Linked DNA regions of Homo sapiens: region 2 is linked to region 1. The links are contacts of gene promoters, found by promoter capture Hi-C in blood cells and fetal thymus (Javierre and others, 2016). All regions are on one chromosome and are shown on one strand. Each heading gives the region's core, a stretch centred on a gene start or on the middle of the fragment in contact. The rest is flanking DNA. Distances are from core to core; before and after follow the strand shown. Region 1 holds the start of ATP1B3 (ATPase Na+/K+ transporting subunit beta 3). Region 2 overlaps GRK7 (G protein-coupled receptor kinase 7).

Region 1 (7,136 bases), core at 1,311-3,810:
ATACTCAGAATATAAAACAACACTTTATGATCCTTTTGTTTTAAAAAAAATGTTATACACAATTCAGTAACATATATACCAGAATGTTAATAGTATCTCTGAGGTATGATGACATCTGGCAGCAAGCCCATACAGTCCCTTCAAGAGAATTAAAAAAAGAATCCTTCCTGGCAGACATATCCCCAGAGGCACAGAGCTCTCCAAACTGATCCTGCCTTTGCAAGAATTAGAACAAGGTGCCCCTTCTCTAGGCAGACCCAACCATGGTCTAGGATACACAGCCTGGCAAGCTGAATATGGATTTCGGCCTCCTCTCACGACTCCCTCACATATCCTTAGAGGGATACCCTTACATTGGGACAGGATTATGGTTAATTTTCACCTATATATGCCATTCTTCACTGACTTACTATTATTACAATAAACAAAAAATTTACTGATAAGAGTAATACTTATCGATTTTGAAGAGATTGACTTAATCCTTCCAAAATGAATCCCAACTTCACTTGTACTAGTTTTACAGTCCTTACACATTGCTCTCTATTTATTTGTGCATGTTATCTATTTAAATGCATTGACTCAATAAAATAAAATCTCTACCCTAGGTCATACAATACAAAGGTTGAAGAGCACTATCTGCAGTAAGAAATGTCATTCTAACACAAAGTGGAGTTACTCCGTTCTGGAAATGAGGAAGCACTGGGGAAGGGAGAAAGGGAGGAAGGTAGCCTATCAAAATTAATCTCTCTCCACCACTCAAAAATTTCTTCAGCAAAAAGTTAGTACACTCTAGAAACAAGCAATTAAGCTTTATAAATGTTCATCTTTTGTTCCCATGTAAGTCTGGATGCAAGATTTATTTCTTCATCACACTAGTGGGTTCCCAAAAGAAAACAGCAATTTAAATAAAAATCATGAGTGATTACCATGCAGTTAGGCAAGGCATCTGTAAAATAATACAACCGCTGGACTAGGATTAAAGGAGAACTGGGTTCTTTTCTTGGCTTTGTGGCATATGTAATTTTACACAAGGCAAAAATCACAACCTCTCTGGGTCTCATTTTTCTCATCTCTAAAGTGGGGGTTGGGCTAAAAATCCTCCAAGGCCCCTTTCAGCTTGTGATAAGACTTCAAGTCGCCTTTTCACCCTGAAGGAGTCCATTTCAGTCTGCACCAACAGTTTATTTTCTGAGTCACAGCTTATTTCTCCATGCTTATCCTAAAAATGTTGTGCCCAAATAGTTCTAAGCTCTCGAGATTTATTCCCACTCAGAAAGAAATGGTCTTTCAAGACCCACTAACAAAATGTTTCAAAAGGATTTAAAAAGGTAAAATTAGTTTACTTAAGTATAAAGGCAAAAAAAAAAAAAAGCTCTAGCCTGCATTCAGAGATTGATACAATTTTAGGAAAAAAAGGCATCCTAAAGCTACTCTACACGGTAGATGGTTTAAATATATTAAAACAAAGAGCTCACGCATAGAAAAAATCTGCTAACATACAACCATCACTCTCCTGTTTTGAAGACACGGGAAAAAAAAAAAAAACCTGTGTTGTTCAGACAGGATTTACTTTCCCCAAAGAAGCAAATTTGTAAGGAAGAAAACCTCTGTAATTAAAAAGGAATCCGGGAGGAACCAACCTTTTTAAGGGCCTTTTCACTGTCCAAATTCAAGTGCATTTTCTTGTACAATGTACTTCTGTGATTAACTCACCGCTACACGTTTAAGCAACCCACACCCACACTTAACACTCAGTCGCACTCTTCCGACCGGTCGGGGTGGCAGCGTGGACGAGTCACAAGATAGCGGCGGGAGTGGAAATTTCCTCTCCCCTGGAGTGGGGCAGGGTCTGGCTTCTCCGAACCGCTCAGCGGGCCGGGCGCCTCCGCCAGGGCCTCTCGGGCCGGAGCGCTCCGTACAAAGGAGGCCCGGGGGCTCGGCTCCTGCACTCTCGGGGCCCGGCTTCGGGCAGGGGTCCCCGGCTTCCGGCGCCGCGCCGGGCGGGAGGCCCGGGCAGCACGTGCGCCCCGCTCCCAGCAGGGAGGGAGGAACCAGCGCGGCCCGGCCGGGCTGCCCGCGGGCCCCGCTGCTTCGGGAGCGAGCTGCGGCCAGTCCGGCCGGCCCGGGGAGCAATGAATGGGGCCGCACTGCGCCGCCGCCGCCCGGGTTAGGGTCGGGCGGTCGGGAGCCCCGGCGCTGGGAGCCGCCTCCCGCCTTTCCGTTCCCACCAGACCGCGCCCGGCGCCCCCGGGACCGAGGCCGGCCCCGGACGCCCAGCTGCTGCCCGCTCACCCCAGCTCTTGGCGGTGCGCCCCAGGAATTCTCCGGTGGTCGGGTTGTAGATGAAGAGCTTCCACTCGGCCAGGCTCTGGTTGAGGGACTTCTTCTCGTTCTTCGTCATGGTGTGCGCGCGGACGGCGAGAGGAGCTGCGGCCGCGGGGATGGAGGCGGCGAGGGCTGCGGAGGCGCGTCCCGGCTCCGGCGGCGCAGCCCGGAGACGGCAGTGAAGGGTGGGACGGCCGAGAACACCTCCTCGTTACGGGGAGTACTCGAGCCGACTGCGCCGCGCCGCGCCGGGCGGCCGCTTGGGCCGCGGGAGCCTGACGTCTCCGCCCGCCGCAGCCAATCCCCGCGCCGCTCGGCCCGCGCCGCTGCCGCCTCCCGCCAGCGGCCGGGGCGCTGCCTGAGGCGGCGAGGGCGCCCCACCCCGCCCCGGCCCCGCCCCGCAGTAGCCTCGGGGGCTCCCTCAGCCTGGGTCAGAGGAAGCGAGAAGAAAGTCTAAAAATCCGAAGGTTTAGTCGCACGCACGTTTATAATAATAGCAAAAGGCGGGCGTCCCCGCGCCGCAGGTTGCTTAGGAGGAGGACTGGGTTTCCTGGGCGTTCCTGGGCGCCGGGGCGCTGAGAAGATGCTACCCGCGGCGGGCGGGTGCGGAGAGCACGAAAACGACTCCAGTCGGCCCGCGGCTTCCTCTCTGAGGGAACTTAATCGTCCCCTCCCCGAACTGCCTCCCCGACCGTCCCCAGGCGTTCTCTGGGCTCTGTGACGTTCCTACAGGACGCTCTCTGGGCTCTGTGACGTTCCTACAGGACGCTCTCTGGGCTCTGTGACGTTCCTACAGGACGCTCTCTGGGCTCTGTGACGTTCCTACAGGACGCTCTGCGGGGGATCGCGCGGGGCTCCCACAATGTACACGGTGCACTGCTGTTCTGAGAACGTCCTCGCTTGGCTCCCTTGAAGGGTTCAACCGGGAGCCTCGGGTCAATGGGAATTCCGTTCTAAATATGCCAGTGAATGGAGTATAATTTTTCTCGGGATTCAGTTGAATTTATCAATGAAATCTAAATACGTGCTTTCCCAAGGGTCCTGGCAACTGAAAGCTCCCAGCTTTTGCCCAGACGCTCCTACTCTTAACCCACAGGAAAGGAACACTCGTTGGAGGGTCCACGCCTGTGTAGTGTCGCCGGCTTTTCATCTCCCCTGTAGAGATCGCGGCCCTTGGGCGGAGCTGAGGGTGCCGGTAGCGTTTTCCTCCGCGAGATGGAGCTGACGAGTACGGGAGGGGGGGTGCCCTCAGACTCAGCGACAGGATAAAAGACTTTATAGGAATTTGCACAGAAGGTGCGGGGTGGGGGAGGTTGTTGTTGTTGTTGTTTATTTATTTATTTTTAGAAAAAAGCTCTGCCTCCGTTTTATTAGCAAATAAAAATTATGGAGAAATGTAATAGCCATCTTATTGTTTGGAGTGATGAATTATAATCTGTCTGGAAGTTTAAACAGCCTGCAAATGGATGAATTTTCCTTTTTCCTCACTTTTCTTACCAAAGCAAGAAATAATGAATTATACCTCCCACAAATGGAAAAGTGGTAAAATATATTCCTATAAAGTGCTTTTTTCACGCTTAAAAAAGCTAAATTTATAATTATGACATTGAAAATAACCAAAATCCATTTACGTTTTGAGCTAATGACACCAAAAGATTTGTAGAAGCATGTTGGAGAGTTTGGCATGAAATGAGTATTAGAAATAGCAAAGCACCATGCAAGCAGACTGGAATGCACTTCTTTAAATCATAGGCAAGATTGAAAGAACTAAAGAATGTTACCTGCCGGGCGCGGTGGCTCACGCCTATAATCCCAGCACTTTGGGAGGCCGAGGCAGGCGGATCAGGAGGTCAGGATCGAGACCATCCTGGCTAACGCGGTGAAACCCCGTCTCTACTAAAAATACAAAAAAATTAGCCGGGCGTGGTAGCGGGCGCCTGTAGTCCCGGCTGCTCGGGAGGCTGAGGCAGGAGAATGGGGTGAACCCAGGAAGCGGAGCTTGCAGTGAGCCGAGATCCCGCCACTGTACTCCAGCCTGGGCGACAGAGCAAGACTCCGTCTCAAAAAAAAAAAAAAAAAAAAAAAAAAAAAAAAAAAAGAATGGAAGTAGTTAACTATTTTCAACTCATTACAAATATAACTACAGGTTAGAGGAAACCTAAAATACTGGTAGAGTTGATAACAGGCTTTTTCATTTAGGTAAGAAAGAAAGATATTTAGAATGAAACAAAACCTGTCCGCTTCATTTACATTGTGTGTGTGCATGTATGTGTGTGTGCGCTAATAATAAGCGTGCTTTGATAACTAATCACCTGGCACACAAAGAAAACGTGGTAAACAAGAATATTATGAAATAGTGTTTCAAAGATATTGGCTGCTGTCAAGGATTTGTAGTTTGTGTATGTGTGTGTGTATATATATATATATATATATATATATTTTTTTTTTTTTTTTTTTTTTTTTTTTTTTTTGAGATGGAGTCTTGCTCTTGTCGCCCAGGTTGGAGTACAGTGGCTCGGATCTTGGCTCACTGCAACCTCTGCCTCCCGGGTTCAAGCAATTCTCCTGCTTCACCCTTCCAAGTAGCTGGGATTACAGACGCACGCCACCACGCCCAGCTAATTTTTTTATTTTTCAGTAGAGATGGGGTTTCACCATGTTGGCCAGGCTGGTCTCGAACTCCTGACCTCAGGTGATCCGCCCGCCTCAGCCTTCCAAAGTGATGGGATTACAGGCATGAGCCACCACGCCCAGCCTGTTAGTTTGTATATGTTTAATGGTCATTAATATGACTTTCATATTTAGTGCTTTGTGGTTTTCCAAATAAGGATTTAAATACAAATATATAATTCAGTAAGCAGTTTTGAAACACATGACTAGTTCAGTATAGTAACTAGGTCCAACAGATTTCAGTTTGGTGAAATTTTTACATTCTACTCCAAAACATGGAAGCTATTTGTTTCTCTGATATATGGTAACTTGAGCATTACCTGGAAGAGAAAATCCTGTGTGTACTGGGAACCACTGGTCTACCAAGTATGAGCAGATAACATTTAATTACAGTTACATTCTCTGTCAGTTTATTTTACTCTAAGTTTCTCCTTTGAAGGAGAAGTTACTTCGCTAGAGAAAATACAGAATGCCTACCTAAATTTAAGTCCAGATGGATGATGGATTTTTTTTGGTATACATTCCATGCAATATCTGGGACATAGCTACTCCCCCAAAATTATTCTTGTCTGTCTGAAATTCAAATTTAACTAGAAATCTTGTTTTTGTTTTTGTTTTTTTGGAGACGGAATTTGATCTTGTCGTCCAGGCTAGAGTGCAATGGCGCAATCTCGGCTCACTGCAACCCCTGCCTCCTGGGTTCAAGCGATTCTCCTGCCTCAGCCTCCCAAGTAGCTGGGATTACAAGCATGTGCCACCTCACCTGGCTAATTTTTGTGTTATTAGTAGAGACAAGGTTTCACCATGTTGTCCAGGCTGGTCTCGAACTCCTGACCTTAGGTGATCCACCCGCCTCGGCCTCCCAAAGTGCTGGGATTACAGACATGAGCCACTGCACCCAGCCTATCTTGTATTTTTATTTGCTAAATCTGACAGCCCTACCTGTAGAGGATACTTAGGAATTCCACAGTAATAATAATGATCTCTTATAAATAATTAAGTAAGTCCCAGGCCCTGTACTACTTGCGTAGTGTGATTTATTTCTCAGTCTTTACAAATACCCTAATGGGGAGGTACTGTTTCCCTAATTTTGTAAATGAGGGAATTACATTTACAAAATCGTAATTAAGTTTGTAATTAATTCTCTAATTACAGTTACTGAAATTAGAGAAATTAACTCATCCATGGTTAAGAAGCTAGCTAATGACAGCACCTGGATTCAAATACCCACCTCTCCTCCACCACCCAATACCATTAATACCTCTACAGTAGGCCGGGCGAGGTGGCTCAAGCCTGTAATTACAGCACTTTGGGAGGCCGAGGAGGGCGGATCACGAGGTCAGGAGTTCAAGACCAGCCTGGCCAACATGATGAAACCCCGTCTCCACTAAAAATACAAAAATTAGCTGGGCACAGTGGCGGGCGCCTGTAATCCCAGCTACTCGGGAGTTTGAGGCAGGAGAATTGCCTGAACCACGAGGTGGAGGTTGCAGTGAGCCTAGATCATGCCACTGCACTCCAGCCTGGGTGATAGAGCAAGACTCTGTCTCAAAAAAAAGGCAGAATGTTGAGTTACTGAAGCTGGGTGTGTGAAAAAAAAGAAGAAACTTTTTTTTTGAGACAGGGTCTTGCCCTGTTTCCCAGGCTGGAGTGCAGTGGTGCAATCATAGCTCACTGTAGCCTCCACCTCCTGTACTCAAGTGATCCTCCTCCCTCAGCCTCCTGAGTAGCTAGGACTACAGGCATGCCACCACACCTGACTTATTATTATTAATATTATTATCATTATTTGAGATGGAGTCTCGCCTTGTTGTCCAGGCTGGAGAGCAGTGGTGCAATCTCGGCTCCCCACAACCTCCACCTCCCAGGTTCAATTGGTCAATTGATTCTCCTGCTGCAGCCTCCTGAGTAGCTGGGACTACAAGTGCGTGCCACCATGCCCAGCTAATTTTTGTATTTTTAGTAGAGACAGGGTTTCACTCTATTGGCCAGGCTGGTCTCGAACTCCTTCGAACTCCTGACCTCATGGTCCACCCACCTTGGCCTCCCAAAGTGCTAGGATTACAGGCGTGAGCCACCGGGCCCGGCTACATCTGGCTAATTTTTATTTTATTTTTGTAGAGATGGGAATCTCACTATGT
Region 2 (7,136 bases), core at 3,063-5,562, 110 kb after region 1:
ATTAAAAATAATCTGGCTGGGTGCAGTGGCTCCTGCCTGTAATCCCAGCACTGTGGGAGGCTGAGGCGGGTGGATCACTGGAAGCCAGGAGTTTGAGATCAGCCTGGCAACATGGCGAAACCCCGTCTCTGCTAAAAACACAAAAATAAGCTGGGCATGGTGGCGGACTCCTGTAGCCCCAGCTACTTGAGAGGCTGAGGCAGGAGAATCGCCTGAACCCAGGAGGCGGAAGCTGCAGTGAACCGAGATCGACAGAGTGAGACTCTGTCTCAAAACATATAATAATAATTAATAATAATAATAATAATAATAATAATAATAATAATCTGACTGGTGACAACAAGTTTAAATAATATTTGACACAAAATATAGAAGTTATAAAATGATAATATGGTACCTACCATTATTTTTAAAGTTTTGCTCACCTGACAATACAGTGAAAAATCAGTCTGAGAATTTCTTCGGAGGAGCAAATGCCTTTTCCCGTGGTTCTTAGGAATGTGGTGGCAGCCTAGCAGGGTAGAACCTTGAGAAAATGGTAGCATTGATATCACAGAGATATTTAAGCTTATCACTGGGGAAAAACATGCTTTCACTGGTGAACATGTATGCTATGAACTTCTTGAAGGTCTATTTAAAATGAAACATTTTCTTTTTCTTTCTTTTTTCTTTTTTTTCTTTTTTGAGACAGGGTCTCACTCTGTTGCCCAGGCTAATGTGCAGTGGCTCAATCTCAGTTCACTGCAGCCTCAACCTCCTGGGCTCAAGGGATCCTCCTACCTCAGCCTCCCGATTTGCTGGGACTACAGTTGTGCACCATCACACCTGGCTAATTTTTGTATTTTTAGTGGAGACATGTTGCCCAGGCTGGTCTCGAACTCCTGGCCTCATGTAATCCATCTGCTTCGGCTTCTGAAAGTGCTGAGATTACAGGTATGAGCTACCATGCCCGGCTGGAACACTTTCTGTGATTGCTAACAATAGGATCCAGAGATTTTCCCAACTTAATGAAACAGTAATTATAGGTTCAATTAAAGAACAGCATTGAATTCTTATATTAGAAGCAGAGCACACACTTTGCCAAAAGTGCTGGGCACAGTCAGCATCCCTTGCGCCAAGTGGGGAAACGTACCAGAAACCTGGGGTTGGGGATGTGGCCCAACAGTTAAGAGCACTAAGTCCAGCACTGCTTGGGAAATCTGAATCCTGGCTTTAGCAAGTCCTAGCTGTGTGACTTTCAGCAAGTTACTTAACTTCTCTGAGCCTTAGTTTCATCATTTATAAAACAGGTAATAAATGTTGATTCTTGGGTAAGCTTTGAGAGAATTAAATGCCAAATGCCTGGCACAAAGAAGTGATCAAAAAGTATTAGCTTTTAAATCACGACCATCAGGCCGGGCGCGGTGGCTCATGCCTGTAATCCCAGCACTTTGGGAGGCCAAGGTGGGCAGATCACAAGGTCAGGAGATCGAGACCATCCTGGCTAACACGGTGAAACCCCGGGAGGTGGAGCTTGCAGTGAGCCGAGATAGTGCCACTGCACTCCAGCCTGGGCGACAGAGCAAGACTCCGTCTCAAAAAAATAATAACAATAAATAATAATCATCATAATAAATCATGACCATCAATCATCAAAATTTAGTCCAAAATTCTGCTTTTCTAATATGCAGATTCGAGGGGAGAAAGGCCTAAGCGATGTAGAAGAAGATGGGTTCCTGTGTCCCATGCACATCTAGTATAGAGCAGCCAATTCAGCATTTGCACATGACCTCGGAAAACTGTGATGCCCCATGCAGCTAGAAGACAGGGAGGTCAGATTTATTAAATATCATGCAAGATTTCTAACACACTATTGTAACTCAACAATTTACTATATTCCACCACAAAAAGAAGACTAACCTCTGTCATATGAAAAGAGGATATATTTCTTTATTTTTATTTTATTTTTTCAACTTTTTTTTTTTTTTTTTGAGACAAAGTCTCGCTCTGTTGGCCAGGCTGGAGTGCAGTGGCATGATCTCAGTTCACTGCAACCTCCGCCTCCCAGGTTCAAGCAATTCTCGTACATCAGCCTCCCAAGTAGCTGGGATTACAGGCATATGCCAATGCACCCAGCTAATTTTTGTATTTTTAGTAGAGATGGGGTCTCACCTTGTTGGCTAGGCTGGTCTTGAACTCCTCCTAACCTCAAGTGATCTGCCCGCCTCAGCCTCCCAAAGTGCTGGGATTACAGGCATGAGCCACTGCGCCCGGCCTCAACTTTTATTTTAGATTAAGGGATGTTTCATTTTGAATGAAAAATCATAACTTTTATGATAGTAGAAAGCAATTTAAATATTTTAGTATTTTTAGGACCCATTTTGTAACCTAGAGAAAAGAAAAAAATGCTCTTGCCCAGGTCTTTCATTACCCTTTGCATCATTTAAAGCATTATTAATGGTGTACATGTTCTCAATTTTAAAGTTTTCTCTCTGAAAATACATCCTAAGATTAACTGTTTAAGGAAAATAGTAAAGCTAAGTTTCTAGTAAGAAACTCACCATCCTTTAAAATGCCCAATTCTCTGCATGGTCCAATAGCATATCTATTTGAAGATCAAGAATTAGGAAGTAATATAGTGCAGTGCTATATGGTCTTAGAAACACAGAGAAGCTATTTTGAGCAGTGTAAGTTCTGAAGCAGACTAATACATTAGCATTAAAATACCCAAAAAGGCCGGACACAGTGGCTCACGCCTGTAATCCCAGCACTTTGGGAGGCTAAGGTGGGCGGATCATGAGGTCAGGAGTTTGAGACCAGCCTGGCCAATATGGTGAAACCTCATCTCTACTAAAAATACAAAAATTAGCCGCGCATGGTGGCGCATGCCTGTAATCCCAGATACTTGGGAGGCTGAGGCAGGAGAATTGCTTGAACCTGGGAGGTGGAGGTTGCAGTGAGCTGAGATAGTCCCACTGCACTCTACCCTGGGTGACAGCAAGATTCTGTCTCAGGAAAAATAAATTAATTAATTAAATAAAATAAAACAAAATACCCAAAGAACCCAGGTTGTTCTTTAGCTTCAAGTTGTTGATTGTTCAACAACTTTTGTTGTTGTTGTTGTTTAAAAATAGATTTACGGGTTGGGTGCAGTGGCTCACACCTGTAATCCCAGCACTTTTGGGAGGCTGAGACGGGTGGATCACCTGAGGTCAGGAGTTTGAGACCAGCCTGACCAATATGGTGAAACCCTGTGTCTACTAAAAATACAAAAATTAGCCGGGCATGGTGGTGGGTGCCTGTAATCCCAGCTACTTGGGAGGCTGAGACAGAAGAATTGCTTGAACCCAGGAGGCAGAGGTTACAGTGAGCCTAGATTGCGCCACTGCTCTCCAGCCTGGGTGACAAAGCAACACTCAGTCTCAAAAAAAAAATAGATTTGGGAGGTACAAGCACAGTTTTGTTATATGGCTATATTACATAATGATGAAGTCTAGGCGTTTAGTGTAGCCATCACTTGAATAATGTACATTGTACACATTAAGTAATTTGTTATCCCTTACCCCTGCTCCCACCTTCTTACCCTCCCATCCTTCCCAGACTTTAGTGTTTATTATTCTACTCTCTAAGTAATTTCTTATCCCTTACCCCTGCTCCCACCTTCTTACCCTCCCATCCTTCCTAGACTTTAGTGTTTATTATTCTACTCTCTAAGTACATATGTACACATTATTTAGTTACTGATTATTGAGAGAGTACATGCTGTATTTGACTTTCTCTTTCTGAGATGTTTCACTTAGATAATAATGGCCTCCAGTTCCATCCACATTGATGAAAAAGACATGATTCCATTCTTTTTTATGGCTGAGTAGTATTCCATGTATGGATATGTGTACACACACACACACACACGTGCACACACACATACATTTTCTTTACCCAGTCACCCATTGGTGAATACTTAGGTTGATTCCATATCTTTGCTATTGTGAATAGTGCTGTGATAAACATATGTGTGCAGTTATCTTTTTAATATAATGATTTCCTTTGAGGAGATACCCAATAGTGGGATTGCTGGACCAAATGGCAGTTCTCCATACTGGTTTTGACTTTTTTTTTTTTTTTTTTTTTTGAGACTGGGTATCACTCAGTCACCCAGGCCGGAGTGCAGTGGTGTGATCACGGCTTAGTGCAGCCAGCCTTGACCCCTTTGGTTTCAAGTGATCCTCCCACCTCAGCCTCCCAAAGTGCTGAGATTACAGGTGTGAGCACCATGCCTGGTCTCCATACTGTTTTCCATATAGTTTGTACTAATTTACATTCTCCTCAAAAGTGTATAAGCATTCCCTTTCTCAACATCCTCACCAACGTTTGTTGTTTTTTGACTTTTTAACAGTAGCTGTTCTGACTGGTGTGAGGTGGTATCTCATTCTGTAATCTGCATTTCTCTGATCATTAGTGGTGATGAGTATTTTTTATATGCTTGTTGGCCATTTATATGTCTTCTTTTGGCAACGTCTGATTTGAATCCTTCCACAGCAAAGGTGTCTTTTTTTTTTTTCTTTTTTCTTTCAGTAAAAGCCCTCTACTGGAAAGTATAGCAAAAGGGTCTTTACCCTCCCAGCAACAGCTGGCCCCACTTTTAATAATTTGAAGTAATCAAAAATACCTTGTTGGCCAGGTGTAGTGGCTCACTAGGTGGCTCCTAGTTGAAATCTAGCACTTACTTTTTTTCTGGTCTGTTTCCTTCATGTACAGTCATAGTTTAGATTAGGTAAACACTAAGGTAACACACATTTTATAAACTCTGTGATTATTGGATAATTGGAGTTAATAGGAAAGTGAGTGGTTTTCAACTGATATTTCCTGAAAGCTGGAAAATGAATTGTTCCCTCCTCTATGTGCCCCTTGGATTTGATACCTACCTCTAGAACAGCCTTTAACCACGCTGTAATTCCAGCACTTTGGGAGGCCAAGGCAGGCAGATCACTTGAGATCAGCCTGGCCAACGTGGTGAAACCCCGTCTTTACTAAAAATACAAAAATTAGCTGGGCATGGTAGCGGGCGGTTGTAATCCCAGCTACTTGGGAGGCTGAGGCAGGAGAATGGCTTGAACCCAGGAGGCAGAGGTTGCAGTGGGCCGAGATTGCGCCACTGCACTCCAGCCTGGGCGACAGGGCAAGGCTCTGTCTCAAAACAAACAAACAAACAAACAAAACCTTGTTGGTTTTTCAAAAATACTTTGTGATAATTCATTATGGCAGCCACAGGAGAGTAATACAGGGGCTGTCTGGTAGGAGCTGGGACTGCAGGAGAGGCTGTCACGTGGGAGCTGAAAGATCGGAGATGCAGCCACTCCCAGAGGTCACACACGAGGCCGAGTGAGATGGGGAGAGATGCCCTGGTGTCTTTCCTCATTAGCAGAGCCTGGCCAGAAGCCAGAGGGCAAGGGAGGCTGGGAAATGTCACTTGCAGAGCTTGCATGGGGTGAGTCCCTGCAGATACAGATCAGAGAAGGCCAAAGTCAGAGAAAGTGTCTGAGAACAAACAGGATGATGACCAACTCCTGTACCATTATCAGTTAAGCCATCCTTTTAAGGATTTGACCTCTCTCTTAGGAACAATGGGAGACCACTAGAGTGTTTAGCCATACGATGTGGATATATTTGTGTTTCAAAGACACCGCTGGCTGCTGCTTTATGAATAGAGTGGGTGCAGAAAGCCCAGATGAGAGGTTACTGCAGCAGCCTAGTGAGTCATGATGCTGGCTGTCAAGATGGAACAAAGCAGAAGGAATCTTAAGCTATTCAGAAGGCAAAATAGTCAGGAGTTGATGATTATGGAGGGTGAGGTAGAAGGAGATGAAGGGGTGAATCCAGGCTTAGGAGAGCTGGAGGATGGTTATGTCATTCACCAAGACAGGGAAAACCTGGAAGAAGGTGTTCAGTTTGGAACATGCAGAATTTGGGGTGCCTGGGAGATGTCCCAGTGGTGATGTTAGGTGGGCAGTGGGATAGAAGGGTCTGGAGTTCAGAGGAGAGGTCTGGAGGGAAAGGCATGTTTGGGAGTCATAGGGGAGTAGGTGATAATTGATGTAGGCATTGAAGAACCCACCTGGGGAGAGAGAAGGGAGTGAGACTGGAAGATGGACAAGGACTGAGCCTTGAGGTCATTCAACATTTATCATTCAGAGGATGAGCCTGTAAGGGAGGCTGAGAAGGAATGAGAAGGGAAGCTGGAGAGAAGCAGGAAAGTGTGGTGCCGCAAAAGCCAAGTAGAGAGTGGCCAACTGCATCGAATGCTGCTGAGAGGCTGAGATGATGAGGAGAAAGAAAGGAGGATGGATGGAAACCACTGGCTCCTGGAGTAGGACTCTCAGCCTGACTGGAGAGGATTGAGGAGGGAAGGAAGGTGGAGAAGTGAAGGTTGCAGCCACAGAACTTTGGCCATGAAAAGGGAGAGACATATGATGGGGAGCTGGAGGGGTTGCGAGAGATGGGAGAAAAAATTAATGGTAGTGTCTTGTGCTTGTTAAAAGCTAACAAGGACCAGGGGCGGTGGCTCATGCCTGTAATCCTAGCATTTTGGGAGGCCAAGGCGGGTGGATCACCTGAGGTCAGGAGTTCGAGACCAGCCCGGCCAACATGGTGAAACCCCATCTCTACTAAAAATACAAAAAAATTAGCCAGGTGTGGTGGTGGGTGCCTGTAATCCCAGCTACCTGGGAGGCTGAGGCTGGAGAATCACTGGAACCCGGGAGGCGGAGGCTGAGGCGGAGTCTGCAGTGAGCCAAGATTGCACCACTGCACTCCTGGGGAAGAGAGCGAGACTCCGTCTCAAAAAAAAAAAAAAAAGGCTGACAGGAAGGATCCAGGTTAGAGGGCGAGGTTAAAATATAAGGGGAAGGATTGGCCTTAGGACGAAGGGCAGCTCTCCAGACAGCACAGGAGTGTGGGTCTGTTGCAAGGGGTCTATGTGTGGTGGCCCCATTTACCATGATAACCGTGACACAGTGTGGTTAGAGGCCGCTCCACAGGTAGGCACCAAATCCAAGGGGAACATAGAGGAATGAACAATTCATTTTCTAACTTTCAGGAAATGTCAGTTGAAAACCACTCACTTTCCTATTAACTCCAATTATCCAATAATCACAGAG

The links. Contacts are between HindIII fragments. The CHiCAGO score rates a contact against its expected background, and 5 or more counts as called.
Region 2: a fragment that was not itself captured here is called in contact with the fragment with the promoter of ATP1B3 in region 1 in 1 of 17 cell types (endothelial precursors); the score reaches 5.8 in endothelial precursors.

Annotation. Positions count from the first base shown.
Region 1 is chr3:141,872,067-141,879,202 of GRCh38, reverse strand. ATP1B3 (ATPase Na+/K+ transporting subunit beta 3) reads right to left here and starts at 2,560. Exons shown (of 7, transcript NM_001679.4): 1 at 2,293-2,560. The coding sequence starts at 2,401. RefSeq lists silencers at 1,766-2,335, 2,606-2,735, 3,606-3,665. The HindIII fragment of the contact is 6,749 bases long and covers 811-7,136 here.
Region 2 is chr3:141,767,970-141,775,105 of GRCh38, reverse strand. GRK7 (G protein-coupled receptor kinase 7) reads right to left here. Exons shown (of 6, transcript NM_139209.3): 2 at 426-526. Among named protein-coding and RNA genes, the nearest start is that of GRK7, 8.1 kb to the right of the region's middle. The HindIII fragment of the contact is 5,990 bases long and covers 1,318-7,136 here.